Linked DNA regions of Homo sapiens: region 2 is linked to region 1. Evidence: promoter capture Hi-C in 16 types of primary human blood cells and fetal thymus (Javierre and others, 2016). All regions are on one chromosome and are shown on one strand. Each heading gives the region's core, a stretch centred on a gene start or on the middle of the fragment in contact. The rest is flanking DNA. Distances are from core to core; before and after follow the strand shown.

Evidence for each region. The method cuts DNA at HindIII sites, captures the fragments that hold promoters and counts their contacts. A CHiCAGO score of 5 or more calls a contact.
Region 2: the fragment with the promoter of CHRNG here is called in contact with the fragment with the promoter of COPS7B in region 1 in 4 of 17 cell types (M1 macrophages, erythroblasts, M2 macrophages and 1 more); the score reaches 8.2 in M1 macrophages.

The regions. Positions count from the first base shown.
Region 1 is chr2:231,783,399-231,790,521 of GRCh38, forward strand. COPS7B (COP9 signalosome subunit 7B) reads left to right here and starts at 3,047. Exons shown (of 7, transcript NM_022730.4): 1 at 3,047-3,140; 2 at 5,157-5,334. The coding sequence starts at 5,173. It also overlaps the pseudogene RPL28P2. RefSeq lists silencers at 2,685-2,764, 2,775-2,954, 3,045-3,304. The HindIII fragment of the contact is 4,652 bases long and covers 2,553-7,123 here.
Region 2 is chr2:232,536,239-232,543,361 of GRCh38, forward strand. It overlaps CHRNG (cholinergic receptor nicotinic gamma subunit), which reads left to right and starts at 3,454. Exons shown (of 12, transcript NM_005199.5): 1 at 3,454-3,564; 2 at 3,754-3,893; 3 at 4,143-4,187; 4 at 4,364-4,473; 5 at 5,136-5,291; 6 at 6,185-6,282; 7 at 6,644-6,844; 8 at 7,037-7,123. The coding sequence starts at 3,510. It overlaps CHRND (cholinergic receptor nicotinic delta subunit), which reads left to right. Exons shown (of 12, transcript NM_000751.3): 12 at 1-426. RefSeq lists an enhancer at 5,276-5,335. The HindIII fragment of the contact is 5,406 bases long and covers 2,589-7,123 here.

The DNA.
Region 1 (7,123 bases), core at 1,797-4,296:
AGTTCTAGGTGCCTCTTATCCTTGTCAACACAAGAGTTTTGTTGTCAGTCTTCTTAATTGTAGCCGTTCTGGCTGAATGTGGTATCTCATTAAGGTATTTATTTGCATTTTTCCTGATGTTGAGCACCTTTCAATGTGCTTGTTGGCTAGTTGAACGTCCTCTTTCGTGAAGTGCCTGTTCTTTTCCCAACTTTTAAAAATTGGGCTGTCTTCTTATTGATTTGTAGTTCTTTACAGTCTGGATATGGAGTTCTTTGATATATGCTTTGCAGATATCTTTTCCAAGGCATGGCTTGTCTTTTCACTCTCTTACTGGTGTCTTTTGAAACAAATTATATTTTTGAGGGATGGGGTCTCTGCTGTGTTGCCCAGGCTGGAATGCAGTGGCTATTCACAGGCACCAGCATTGCCCACTGCAACCTCGAACTCCTGGGATCAAGTGATCCTCCTGCCTCTGCCTCGCAAGTAGCTATAGTAAGACTATAGGTGTACTCCACTGCATCTGACAAGCAGAAATTCTTAATTTTAACACAGTGCAATAGTTCCGTGCTTTTTATTATGGTTAGTGTTTTTTGCATTGGATTTCAGAAATCTTTGCTTTTAGAGTTGGCAGGTTTTTTACAGGCTGATAGAAGAGCATTCCAAAAAAGAGCAAGCTTGAGCATAGGTGTGGTGTCTGAGAGGGAGGGTGTAAGTTGTGCCGGGCATGGGAGTTTGGACTGAGAAGGGGGAGGGGGTGGGGTGCGACAAAGCTGGAGTTAGGAGGGAGGCACACTTTGAAGGGCTTTCAGTGCAGCCACTGCCTGGGCGTGGTGGCTCACGCCTGTAATCTCAGCACTCTGGGAGCCAAGGTGGGAGGATCACTTGAGATCAGGGAAGACCAGCTTGAGCAACATAGTGAGACCCCATCTTTAAAAAAAAAAAAAGGAATAAATTTGCCGGGTGTGGTGGCACGCACCTCTAGTCCTAGCTACTTGGGAGGTGGAGGTGGTAGGATCCCTTGAGCCCAGAAGTTCAAGGCTGAGGTGAGCTATGATAGTGCCACTGCACTCCAGCCGCGGTGACAGAGTAAGACTCTGTCTCTTAAGGGAAAAAAAAACCAAAATACTAAATCCAAATTGCAGCCATGGAGTCTGGACATTGTTCTAGAGGAAGTAGAGGCATTGCTGGAATTTCTATGAAGTCACACTAAACTCACTTGTCTTCCTCTCACTCTCATATTTGTCCCTCCTCTTCCATAGCCCTGTTCACTTAACACTAGCTCTAGACAGCTCTGGCCTCCCAGCGCAGAATCCTGGGTGTTATGCTCCCTCCCTCTCCTTATATTCAACTGGTCACCAAGTCTTATAGATTCTATAGTCTAAATGTCTCCAACAGTGTCCCTTCTTTTTCATCCCCAATTGCCACTACCTTTGTTTTTGTTTGTATTTTTGAGATGCAGTCTCAGTCTGTTGCCCAGGCTGGAATGCAGTGGCGCAATTTCGGCTCACTGCAACCTCCACCTCCTGGGTTCAAGCGATTCTCATGCCTCAGCCTCCAGAGTAGCTGAGATTAGTAGTGCATCACCATGCCCAGCTAATTTTTGTATTTTTAGTAGAGACAGAGTTTTGCCATGTGGCCCAGGCCGGTCTCGAACTCCTGACCTCAGGTGATCTGCCCACCTTGGCCTCCCAAAGTGCTGGGATTACAGGCGTGAGCCACCGCGCCCGGCAACACAATCTCTTATCTAGAATAAATCGGTCACCTCACCGGAGGTTTTCCCTGCCTCCAATTCTCTCCACATCCAATCCACTCCTATAGCACCTAGCATGATCACTCTAACAAGGCAATTATTCATACCTCTCCTTAGCTTAAAAAGCCTAAGTAATTCCCCAGTACCTGGCATGTGGATTCCAAGACCTTTGATGACCTGACTCCAGCTCTGTACCCCTCATTTCTCACTCTTGAAAACCCTGGGGTCAAACCACTCTGGGTTTCTTTTTGACATCAGTATATGCTGCACAGTGCGAGCCTCTGTGACAATGGGCACTACCCCCCTTTTTTCCCCTTTTTGTCTGTTTTTTTCTTCCCCAACCTCTTCTGTGCTTCCAAAGTGTTGTCATATCTTCCCCATAGCATTTAACACATTGGAGCTTTTGAGGGTAAGAGCTTTGTTTTATCTTCATATAACTTTTCAGGACATAATAGGTGCTAAAGAAATGTTTTTGAATAAATGAATGAGTTGGTTGATGCTAGGCTCCTTTGCATTTGTCCTGTCTCATTTCTGCATTCTAACGCACGATAGGCAAATAGGGCTGTTTTTCTCTCTCATTTTCAAGACCTGAAAGACTGTGGTGTATACAGGAATCAGTTTAAGTGTTCAATTATGTGGCATTTCTTAGCCATCTTCCCAGGGGAGTTGGTAAGCACCAGATGCAACTCTATCAATGACATTTTGGTCATAGAACCATTGTTGGCTTAACCCATCTCTTGCTTATTTTAAAACATTTTCTGAATAGAGGTCAAGAACATCGTCTTCGGCCTCAGATAGCCTGGGTTTGACAAAGATAGCAAGCTTTGTCACTTTCTGACTTTTGGACTTAGTTAACTCACCTGAAAAATGGGAACAATAATACAAGCCACAGTTATGAGAATTCAACGAGATAATGCATGTACAGCACCTGGCACATGGTAAAACGCTCAATAAGTGGTAGTTAGTAGGCTTAATGTATCTCGGTGCCCAGGGGTAGCGCAGTAGCCATGGGGAGCTCCTGAGAGAGAAAGCACAGCCTAAGGGGAGGATTTGGGGCCCGGGATGGCGATGGCGACGGTTGGGCTGCAGTACCGTCTAGGCCGCATTCCTCTCCTTGGGCCCCTAGCCACCCCCTCCCCGCCTGGTTCCCGGGCTGCAGACTCTTCCCCGCCCCCTCGCTCCCACTTCCCCACCGGAGGTCGAAGGCTGTAAACGCGGCGGGTGGAACCTTGTGTGGGCGGAACGCGAGTGCAGCGGTGGGAGGCTTCCGGGGGAGCTGCACGGGCGACGGGTCGGCGGAGACAGAAAAGCGCCGGACGCCGGGGTGATCATGGACGCTTGACAACCTGCGGGCAGGCGCCGGGAGGCCGAGCCAGCGACTAAGAGGACCGAGAGGTGGCGTGGACAGGTAGGAGCTAGCGAGAGGGTGGGCCGAGCGGGGCCGGCGCTCCAGGCTCGGCCAGACGATCCGGCTTAGAGCCCGCCGCCAAGGAAGCCCGCGGCCGTGCCCGCCCCGCCCCCGCCTTGGGGAGCGCGTCCCGCGGCTCCTCACTCCACGCCTGCGGCCCTGCTTGGAGCATACCGCCCACCGTGAGGTCTGCTGCAGCTTGCGACCCTCAGCTTCAGTGCTGTGGCTGCTTTCGCTCTCCCATCCCCAAAGGCTGCTCGTTTGCCCCTCTCCAGTCCATCCAAATAGCGCCCTCCCCTGACGGGAATTTATCTCCGCTCTGTGCCTAGCCTCTGGCCCTCCCACTCCAGAAGAAAGCGACTGTCTCCGTCTCTTTACATTCTCTGCGCCCACAGGCTTTGCTCCTTAAGCCGAGATTTTTTGAAGGGACAGAAGTTTCTCTCCATTTCCCTACCCCCTCTCCACCCCCACCTCCTAACATTGGGACTCTTTGCAGAGATCCCCATCTGTCTCTTCACACGGGTCCTCTTGGAAGGGCCTTTTCGCTCCTTCCCTCTTTACCGTCACCGACCCTCCTTTCTTCCCTACTCCTTTCCTTCTTCCTCGTATCCTCTCCCCTTCTCTTTTCCCTTTCCCTTCCGTCCTCAAACTCGTTGTTCCCCAGCACTTCATTGTTTTTCCTGTGTCTGGCCGGACCTTCTTAGGTAACCCTAAGTGAGGCGACATACTTGTTTCTCTAATACTGTGAAAGGGCAACTAATCTGTGTGCCTGCCAACACAAAACTTAGTTCCTCTTGCACCAAACTATTCTTCAAATTGTTCTTTGCTGCACTCTACTATACCGTTTTTCGTTCATTTTGTCACGCTGCTCTAATATGTATCATTCTTGGAGGAGAAATCTTACCTGGAACTCCTGTACACTCAGCGTGTAATTAGATTACACAATTGAGGGACCCTCCTGTACTTAATGTCTTCGGAGCGCTGATACAATATTTTCACTGTTTTCCCAAATCTTTTTATCGTTTTCTTGAGGTTTTTTTTTTTTTACACATTCTGAAGTCACGTTTGGTTAAAATGTCGTATCAGGAGGAGGCCGAATACAGGGATTTTTCCCCATGGTCTTACACAGCATGTATGTTCTTAGTTTGAATATATCGCTACTTTTCTTTCAAAATGATGTCTCCCTTTATCTGTGCTTACTTGACTTGATTAAATGAGACATCTTTCTTGTCTGGTTTTTTGTTTTCCTTATCTGTCTGGCTGTAGATTGGATTCTGATGACACAGTGGGAGCTGTAACTGATTGCTTTTGCTTACATCCGGTGCCTCTGTGTATAGGCAGTATCCTCCATTTCTTAACCAGAATGTATAAACGAGGTGGATATAAAACAGCTGCTGAGAAACTCATGTGTTTTTCTTTAGGTCCTGGTCAGGTTTAAGGACTTAGAAGGTGTTGCCTCTGGAGGAGGGACAGGTGGAAGTGAAATGACTTTTACAAAGTGTGTTTCAAACACCAGAATTTAGGACAAGATCCTTTTAACTCCAGGTTGAACTCCACCCATCTCATAAGGTGGTCATTGCATCTGGACTCAGGAACTGTTTTTTTTTTTTTTTTTTTTGAGACAGTCTCGCTCTGTTGCCCAGGCTGGAGTGCAGTGGCACAATCTTGGCTCACTGCAACCTCCACCTCCTGGGTTCAAGCAATTCTTGTGCCACAGCCTCCCAAGTAACTGGGACTACAGGTATCTGCCACCAGCCTAGCTAATTTTTGTATTTTTAGTAGAGATGGGGTTTTGCCATGTTGCCCATACTGGTCTCGAACTCCTCACCTCAGGTGATCCACCCGCCTCAGCCTCCCAAAGTGCTGGGATTACAGGCATGAGCCACTGCACTTGTCCTGTTTTTTCTTTATCAACACTATAAAAGTAAAGTATTCTGGTGTTTGATTCAGCACTGAATAGGCACAGACTTTGCAAAGGAGAAGGAAGAATGACTGACACAATTTTCTTTTGGACAGATTTCAAGGCCAGAGAATGGCAGGGGAACAGAAACCCTCAAGTAATCTCCTGGAGCAGTTTATTTTACTAGCCAAAGGTACCAGTGGCTCAGCCCTCACTGCTCTCATAAGCCAGGTCTTAGAGGCTCCCGGAGTGTATGTCTTTGGAGAACTTCTGGAGCTGGCCAACGTGCAGGAGGTAAGAACGGTTTGCAAACAATTTCTCTTTATTCTAAGACTCTGTAATTCTCCAGGTTTCCAAAGAATTTCAGTGCTGAAGTATTGTGAACCTGTGAGGTACCCTATTGTGAGACAGATGGGAATTGGTGGGGCAGAGGGAGAGATTGAGAGAATATCCTTGGCTCCTTTTATCCAGTATTTTTATCTTACCTTGGGTAAAATTAGATTGTTGCTAATAATAACCTAAAAGATAGTAAAAAAGTCAAATTGATCCTGATAAATTAGAAAAGTAGTGCTGTAAGCATGGGCTGTTTAATAGGAGTAGATTCATGCATTCTTAAGGACCAGAAACCTCCAGTGCAATATCGATAAGGAAGATTGGTCAGGGACACACAGCAGAAACATACTGCTATTGAACATAAGATGGACATGAATAGGAGTGTATTGTTCTTGAGGAAAAGGGCAGTGTTGTGCTAAATGTGTTAGATGTGTTAGATATGACATGAAAAGCTAGGACATAGTTCATTTTACTTGTTTGCTTGCTTGTTATTAAAACCTTGGATATCCAGTTTTGGTCATTGTGCCTCAAAAATGAGAAGATCCATTGAACAGAAGGAACAAAGAGATGTAAAGCAATCTATACTTCTCAACCTCTACTTTCCAATTTGAACATTTTTATTTATTTATATTTATTCACTTATTGAGAAAAGTCTGTAAGCATCTTTATTGTTTTGTGGGGTGGAGGCTGGTGCTCAGGAGCTTTTGGCGGATTGGTGGGGCAGGTCCCCTTCCTCTTCATCCTCACAGGCTTCTGGCTATGCAGACTGGTGCTGGCTCTGTGGAAGCTGCCATGCATAGATCTGGGTGATGGTACTTCTTGTGGAGCATGTGCTGGATGCTGTTGAGAGTGGCCCCGGAGTTCTTGGTGGTGGCGATTTGCATATAGGAGGTGGTTTGCTTTTGTTGGGCAGTTTATCACCTTCATGACCACCACAACACCTTTGCTGTTGGCTCCACACCCACAGTCAGTTTTAACAGGAGTTTCAGTGAATCAGTTAGTTGTAACCAAAGGAGTTGCCGGCCTTCAGTTTATTGGATTCGGTGCTGTGTGTCTGCCTATTCCTCTTGATGGGGAAACTGGAGCAGTTCCCTACAGTCCAGCCATTTCAGGTGCCCAATTATGTCTCCTCTACCTGTGATGTTCAGAGATGAGAAGAGCCACTTTTACTTTTTCACTGTAAATTTTTATTTAATGTCAGCCTTGCTTGCCGAACTATAAACTCTGTGAGGAGGTCTGTAGTGCTCACCATTGTTTCTTTAGAGCTGAATACGTAGCCTGACACACAGTAGGCTTTCAATAAAAATTTAATTTACCAGAAGTGGAAAATGAGTTTTATGAAGAAAATTTCAGAAAACTGAGTTCATTTTTCAACACAAGAGATGACCAAGGGGTAATATGTTCCTTCAGGTTCATGAACAGCCTGCATGAATATGCCAAGTAGTTGTTTTGTAACTGTGGAAGATTGGCTAAGAGGAGATGGATGGAAAGTAAAGTCAGAAAGACCTTATTGATTTAGGCCAGTGGGAGAAGTGTTGGAGTATCTGCTCTGGAGAAAATGCTCTTTTCCGGCTAGTTTTGTTAATTATGTTTCTGAAAAGGGGGGCTAGATTGGATGGTCTTTACCAGGTTTCTTCCCCTTCTGATTCAGGGACTTCAGGAGGTTTGTGGTAACCTGAGAAAGTAGCCTGAGGTATTATGGTGCTGGAGTTCTCCATAGGGTGCTTAGCAGACCACCTTTATCTCCCCA
Region 2 (7,123 bases), core at 2,204-4,703, 750 kb after region 1:
ACCCTTGTGCAGTCCCCTCACTCTGTACCAGGGTGGGTCTGGGTAACCAATAGAATGAGGCAGAAGTGATGGTACCTCACTTCCCAGATTTGGTTAGGAAAGACACTATGGCCTCTTTCTTGCTCATTAGCCCTCATTCTCACATCAGTTGGATCTCTCACTTTGGGGAAGCCAGCTGGCATGTTAAGGAGCCCTATGGAGAGGCCCACATGGCAAGGAACTAAGGCCTCCTGCCAACAGCCACGTGAGTGAATGTGGAAGTGGATCCTCTGCCCCAGTAGGGCCTTCGGATGAGATCACAGCCCAGTAGACATCTTATGTGCAGCCCCATGAAAGTCCCTAAGCCAGAACCACCAGCTAAGTGACTCCTGGATTCCTGACCCCCAGAAACTGTGTGAGATAATAAATGTGTGTTGTTTTAAGTGACAACGTTTTGGTGTCATTTGTTACACCAGCAATGTGACCTTGAGTGAGCTGCTCCTCATCTCACTCCTCACCTTCCATCTTCTAATCTGCAAAATGTGTGTCTAGTAAGTCCTAGTCATGGGGTGTTGTGAAAATTGAATTTCTAGTAGGAGCATTTTCATGTGACCTGCACATTTAATGGGTGGTGATTTAACCCATTTCCCTCAGGGGGGAATTGGTGACCTCATTAACTCAGATATACAGAAGGTGAGATTTTTAATGTTTAGATGTAACCAAGGAAAAAGAAAAACCATTTAAAACCAAAACTGACCCTAGTAACTTCTGCCTTCCAGCATGAACTATTCACAAAATTCAAGGTACAAATCTTTAATTGTCCTGTCTAAATAGGAAAGCCAGTTTGTTCTCACACCTGTCAGGTGAGCAGGAAATCTGAGACTTCCCCAGGAATAGCCCATCAACTCAGGGAGGGTCCGTCTTGTGCACAGAGAGTCTAGGGCCCTCAGCCACAGTCTTTGCTTCTCTCTGCCTCATGGTGGCGCTGCTGGCAGCAGGTCTTGGTTCAACCACCAGGTGAGTCCTCAGTTCTATTAGGCCCTGCTCAAGTGGCTGTGGACTTCCAGAGAAGACAACCCCAAAATGTCACACAAAACCGGGGGGGTGCCTCCTGCACAGGCTCCCAGGGTCACCACAGTTTCCACCAGAGGCACCCACTCCCCCAGCACGGTGGTGCTGTCAGGACTGGTCCACTCTGACTGACATAGAACTCCATCTTCTGTCCCCAGGAAGCCATGCTCACAGGCACAGCTTTCCGGGAAGCCAGAGAGTGTTCCTTACTCTCTCCAGACCAACAGGGCTACCCTCTCTCTTTCAATGGACAGTGAATCAGTAATACACTGGCCTGCAAGGAACAGAAAGCTGAAGGAATTGTAGCTTAAACACATAAGGTTTCCTTTTTCTCACATAGTAATAATAGGGAGGCGGAGGTGATCATGTTGGCTCGGCTGTCTAACAAAGCTATCAGGGACCCAGGCATTTTGCCATCTGCCCAGCCCTGCCTCCATGGCAAGTTGGCTTCTGTCCTCAGACCTGTTGGCCCCAGTTTGTGAGCTGACAGCCACAGCTGCACACTTAGCACCTATGTTCAGGCAGAAAAGGGCCAGCCATTTCTGACCCCTTTCATCAAGAAGCAAAACTTTTCCATAGGCCGGGCACAGTGGCTCACGCCTGTAATCACAGCACTTTGGGAGGCTGAGGCGGCTGGATCACCTAAGGTCAAGAGTTCAAGACCAGCCTGACGAACATGGTGAAACCCCCTCTCTACTAAAAATACAAAAATTAGATGGGCTTGGTGGCGCCCGCCTGTAATCCCAGCTACTCAGGCGGCTGAGGCAAGAGAATCGCTTGAACCCAGGAGGCAGAGGTTGCAGTGAGCCGAGATCAAGTCATTGTACTCCAGCCTTGGCGACAAGAGTGAAACTCCAACTCAAAGAAAAAAAAAAAAACAACTTTTCCATAAAGCTCCAGTAGACATCCCGCAGGTCAAAACATCACATGGCTAGCCTATCTGAAGGGAGACTAGGAAATGAGTATCTTGCTCTACCAGCCATTATAACAGAGGGTGGCAAAGGAGAAGTAGTGTTAGACAATTCTACAGATGATTTTCTCTGAATGGGTCCTGTCCCTGCACACGTAACCCCTGCAAGAAACTTCCATTCCTCATTGATGATTTACCCTTCGGAGAACACCAAGAAGGCTTCTAGGCCATCTCTCCCAGAGCAGAGAAAGGGAGAAAACAGGAGGGTGGAGGGTAGGGGATGCAGGGACAGGTGGTCCACTGTTTGGCAGTGCTTCCTGATCATGGAGGCCATTGAATTTGGTAAAATGTGGGCATGGAGGAGAGTAAAGAGGTGGAGAGAAACTGGTCTGCAAAAGAGGATAAGAAAACTGCATCTAGGGGGACCAGAGGGCAAAATGGAAAGGCAAGGCTCTCAGAAGTGAGAAGGAAACGAGGGCTTTGTAAATTCCAGGAAAAGTGGGCCACACAGAGAGAAGCTCAGTGGGGGGGATGCCCAGGGAGGGGGAAGCTCAGGAAGGGGGAAGCTCAGGGAGGAGGAAGCTCAGAGAGGAGGAAGCTCAGGGAAAGGGAAGCCCAGTGAGGGGGAAGCTTAGGGAGGGAGAAGCTCAGGGAGGGGGAAGCTCTGGGAGGAGGAAGCTCAGGGAAAGGGAAGCCCAGTGAGGGGGAAGGTCAGCGAGGGGGAAGTTCAGGGAGAGGGATGCTGAGTGAGGGGGATGCCGAGTGAGGGGGAGGCCGAGTGAGGGGGATGCCCAGTGAGGGGGATGCCCAGTGGCAGGCCAAGATGGGTGGATCACTTGAGTTCAGGAGTTCCAAGACTGGCCTGGCCAACATGGTGAAACCCCGTCTCTACTAAAAATACAAAAAAGAAAAAAGAAGAAGAAGAAGAAAAATTAGCCAGGCGTGTTGGCGCATGCCAGTAGTCCCAGCTACTCAGAAGGCTGAAGTAGAAGAATCAAGGTGGAGGTTGTAGTGAGCCAAGATCGCACCACTGCACTCCAGCAAAAAACAAACAAACAAACAAACACAAAAACCCTCACATGCCTACCCAACAGCCTTCACACCCACCCAAATCCTGACTCCCTGGAGGGAGTAGGAGGCAGTCCACCTCAGCCCTCTCTGGAGCCGCTGTCAGGTTCCTCGGCGACCTGCCTTCCCTACCACACCCAGCTGGCCCTGGCTGTCCTTGCCCCCCATGTGGAACATGGAGGTGAGGCTGGGACAACTGAGCCCGAGTTGGGGCTGGAAGGTGGATGTCTCTTTTGGGGCAGACGGGGCCCCTGTCTCCCCTCTCCAGCCCAGGTAACCTGAGCCCAGCATTGTGTCCATCCTGGAACAGCTGACAACGCTGTGGTCAGACAGCTGGTGGGGCTGGGCCAGGCTGGCCGGGCTGGCTGGGCTGGCTGGGGTGGGAGTGTAGGCTGTTATATGACACCCAGAGCCCATCTCTCTCTGCCCCAGACCTTGGAGCTGTTGTCCCACCCCTGTCACTGCAGAGAGCTGAGGCACCATGCATGGGGGCCAGGGGCCGCTGCTCCTCCTGCTGCTGCTGGCTGTCTGCCTGGGTGGGACACAAAGGAATCTCAGCCTGGGGAGTCCCAGAGCTGGGGTCCACAGCCTCAGGGGATGGAGGGTCTGAGGGGTATTGGGGCCTGCCCTGGACCCAGTTCCCTGAGTCCCCACTTCACACCCCCAGGGCCTCCCCGCTCTTTCCACCTCCAAGCTCCTGCTAGGCTCACGCCTGTCTATTGCAGGGGCCCAGGGCCGGAACCAGGAGGAGCGCCTGCTCGCAGACCTGATGCAAAACTACGACCCCAACCTGCGGCCCGCGGAACGAGACTCGGATGTGGTCAATGTCAGCCTGAAGCTAACCCTCACCAACCTCATCTCCCTGGTAAGCCGCAGGACGGAGGAGGGGTCAGCGCACCACGCCCTGGGACCTGCTGGGGATAGCATGGGGTGGCTCCAGCCACCAAGAGGTTGGAGGGCCCTAAATCGGACAGGCTGGGGTCTGGAAAACCCCCATGGTTGTGGGGGGAGTACTATCAAGAGGCTGGGGGATGCTTGGCCCCATTGGTGGCCTGTGGGGACTGGCACTGAAGTCGGGGGCTGAGCCCTCCATACTACACCCTTGCACCCCCAGAACGAGCGAGAGGAAGCCCTCACCACCAATGTCTGGATAGAGATGGTAAGAGGCCACCCTGCCACCCTCCTTCCATCAGGGGTCCCACCCCACCACCCCAAGGCCTCCTGAGAGTTGCCTGCCCCGTTCCTGCCTCTTCTGTCCTCTTGGGCTGGATGCCCACTCCTAGGGCTGTGGTGCAGCAGAGGGCAGAGGCCTAGCAACTGCCCCTCCCCCTGCAGCAGTGGTGCGACTATCGCCTGCGCTGGGATCCGCGAGACTACGAAGGCCTGTGGGTGCTGAGGGTGCCGTCCACCATGGTGTGGCGGCCGGATATCGTGCTGGAGAACAAGTGAGGAGGGGGTGCAGGCAGGGGTGTGGGGGACAAAGGACACAGGGTCTGGGCCCAGCAGAACAAGGCACTCTGGGAAAAGAGAAAGATGAGCAGAGGGTGCAAATCGGGCACCTGTGGGGCTAGGGAAGAACTGGATGGAGCAGGTGCCGAGGGCAGGGCCCTGGGTATGCCCTCTGACCCCAGGGCCAGCAGAGCAGACCCTACGCCAGGCTCCATCTCCTCTGGGCTGGGCCACCTGGGTGGGCTGCTCCCTTCCCTGTAACATGGGGCCGCTGACGGGTCCTATAGAAGCTGGCGAGAGTCAACAAGACAGGCATGAAAAGTGCATCACTCGGGGGCTGGCACATGGTGTGGGCTTAACACATTAGTCGCTATTATGACTATTATTATTATTATTATTATTATGATTAAAACAAGAGAGAGTAAGATAAGCAGAAATTAGGAGGTGGTGCCTGAGGAAGTCTGTCTGGGGCGGGGGGTGGCAGGAGGATTGCTGGGGGGACCTAGTGGTCCGGGTGGGAACCAGTCAGGGGGTGACAGGCTGGTAGGGACTGGTGTCCCCAGGCCCCTATCCACATGGGGCACAGGGGCTGGTCTGGGGCTGGGGTGTCGGGGGCTGAGCCCACAGCCTCGTGGCCTGGCCTGTTCTGTGCATACAGCGTGGACGGTGTCTTCGAGGTGGCCCTCTACTGCAATGTGCTCGTGTCCCCTGACGGCTGTATCTACTGGCTGCCGCCTGCCATCTTCCGTTCCGCCTGCTCTATCTCAGTCACCTACTTCCCCTTCGACTGGCAGAACTGCTCCCTTATCTTCCAGTGAGGCCATTTATTGGGGAGGATTAAGAGAGCTGCTCTCAGAGGGGCCTGGGCAGTGGTGGGGTAAGGCCTGGGCAAGGCTTCTGGCCTTGGCTCTGGCAGCACCTAGAGGCCTGGCTCCATCTCCCCTGGGCCTCTGTGCCCATCTCAGGCTAAGACACCTGAAGGTGCCCAAGCTCTCCCTGCTAAGCCCGAGTCCCCTCACTCATCCTTTACTGCCTCAGTTTCCTCACCTGTGCTCCAAGGGGAGACATTCACGCCTGGGGTGCGTGGGTGAGAAGGCACACATGCACACAAGATGCGTGTCTGCGCACACACGAAACCACTGCACACTCCAGGCCCACAGGGAGGCAGGGCTGTCCTGTGAGAGAGGGGCCCTGGCAGGGAATCCAGCGGAAGCATGTATGCAACCAAGCCACCCCTGGGGGTCTCTGGGTCTGTTTCCTCAAACCTAAGTGTGGGGAGGAGGGCCCGGGGGAGGGTTCTCCTGTACCTTAGAGGAGCAGTCTTTCCATGAGCAAACCTGGCAGGGAGACTCCCCTCTGTAGACACGGGGGTCCTCCTGAGGTAGGCATGTGTTTTCTACATTGCCATCATCAGCCCCTCCTGCCAGACAGCAGTGGGAGAGACAAATGCAGAGTGACCCTGGGCCCATCAGCCAGGTGAGGGCCCTGCAGCCTCCTGGGCCTTCAACTCCATCTTCCTGACCCCAAAGAGCCCTAGGTCCTCCTGCTCTCCATATCTCGCCAGTGGGGTTTTATAGAGAACTCAGAAGCGTGGGGCTGCATTTTGTTGAAGAAAAGCTGCCCACACTTGTCCCCAGAAGGTCATCCCCATGCAGTCGTGGCAGGTCCACCCGCTCACATTTAGCCTCTTTCCTCGGTGACTCCCAGGTCCCAGACTTACAGCACCAATGAGATTGATCTGCAGCTGAGTCAGGAAGATGGCCAGACCATCGAGTGGATTTTCATTGACCCTGAGGCCTTCACAGGTAACCCCCACCCAAGGGCTCCCCAGGCAGCCTCATCCAGGGCTCCTGCTGGACCCAGCTGTGGTCAAGGCTGGACCAAGGTCAAATCCCTCCCATGTAACTCAAAATGAAAACTACAGCAAACCATAAAATATGCTTTTTAAAACGTCCAACAAAGCTCTGACTTTCCTCATGATAATGTCTCCAATTTTAGAAGAGGCTCGAGCATCCAATCTCCCACCCCACTTCTGTCCCTCAAGGGTGCCTCCCCTGCTGGTGCTCCTTAGGGCACATGCTGCCCTTGCAGCTGGGTCACTCGGCTGCAGGGATCTGCCTAGCTCACGCTTCTTGTGCCCACTCCTGCCTGCCTGCCTGCCCGCAGAGAATGGGGAGTGGGCCATCCAGCACCGACCAGCCAAGATGCTCCTGGACCCAGCGGCGCCAGCCCAGGAAGCAGGCCACCAGAAGGTGGTGTTCTACCTGCTCATCCAGCGCAAGCCCCTCTTCTACGTCATCAACATCATCGCCCCCTGTGTGCTCATCTCCTCTGTCGCCATCCTCATCCACTTCCTTCCTGCCAAGGGTACCTGGAGCCTATGGGAAGGAGCCATCCAGTAGCACAGGGGACACCTGGGAGGCCGGGGTGGGCCCTGCCTGGGGAACAGAGTGGCATTACGACCCAGGACAGAGGCAGCGGGCTACTTCTGGGGTAAGGGGTTCCTCTGTGGGTGGGGGAGGTAGGAACCTGCTCTGAGAGCCTCTCGGTCATGGATAGCTGGGGGCCAGAAGTGTACCGTCGCCATCAACGTGCTCCTGGCCCAGACTGTCTTCCTCTTCCTTGTGGCCAAGAAGGTGCCTGAAA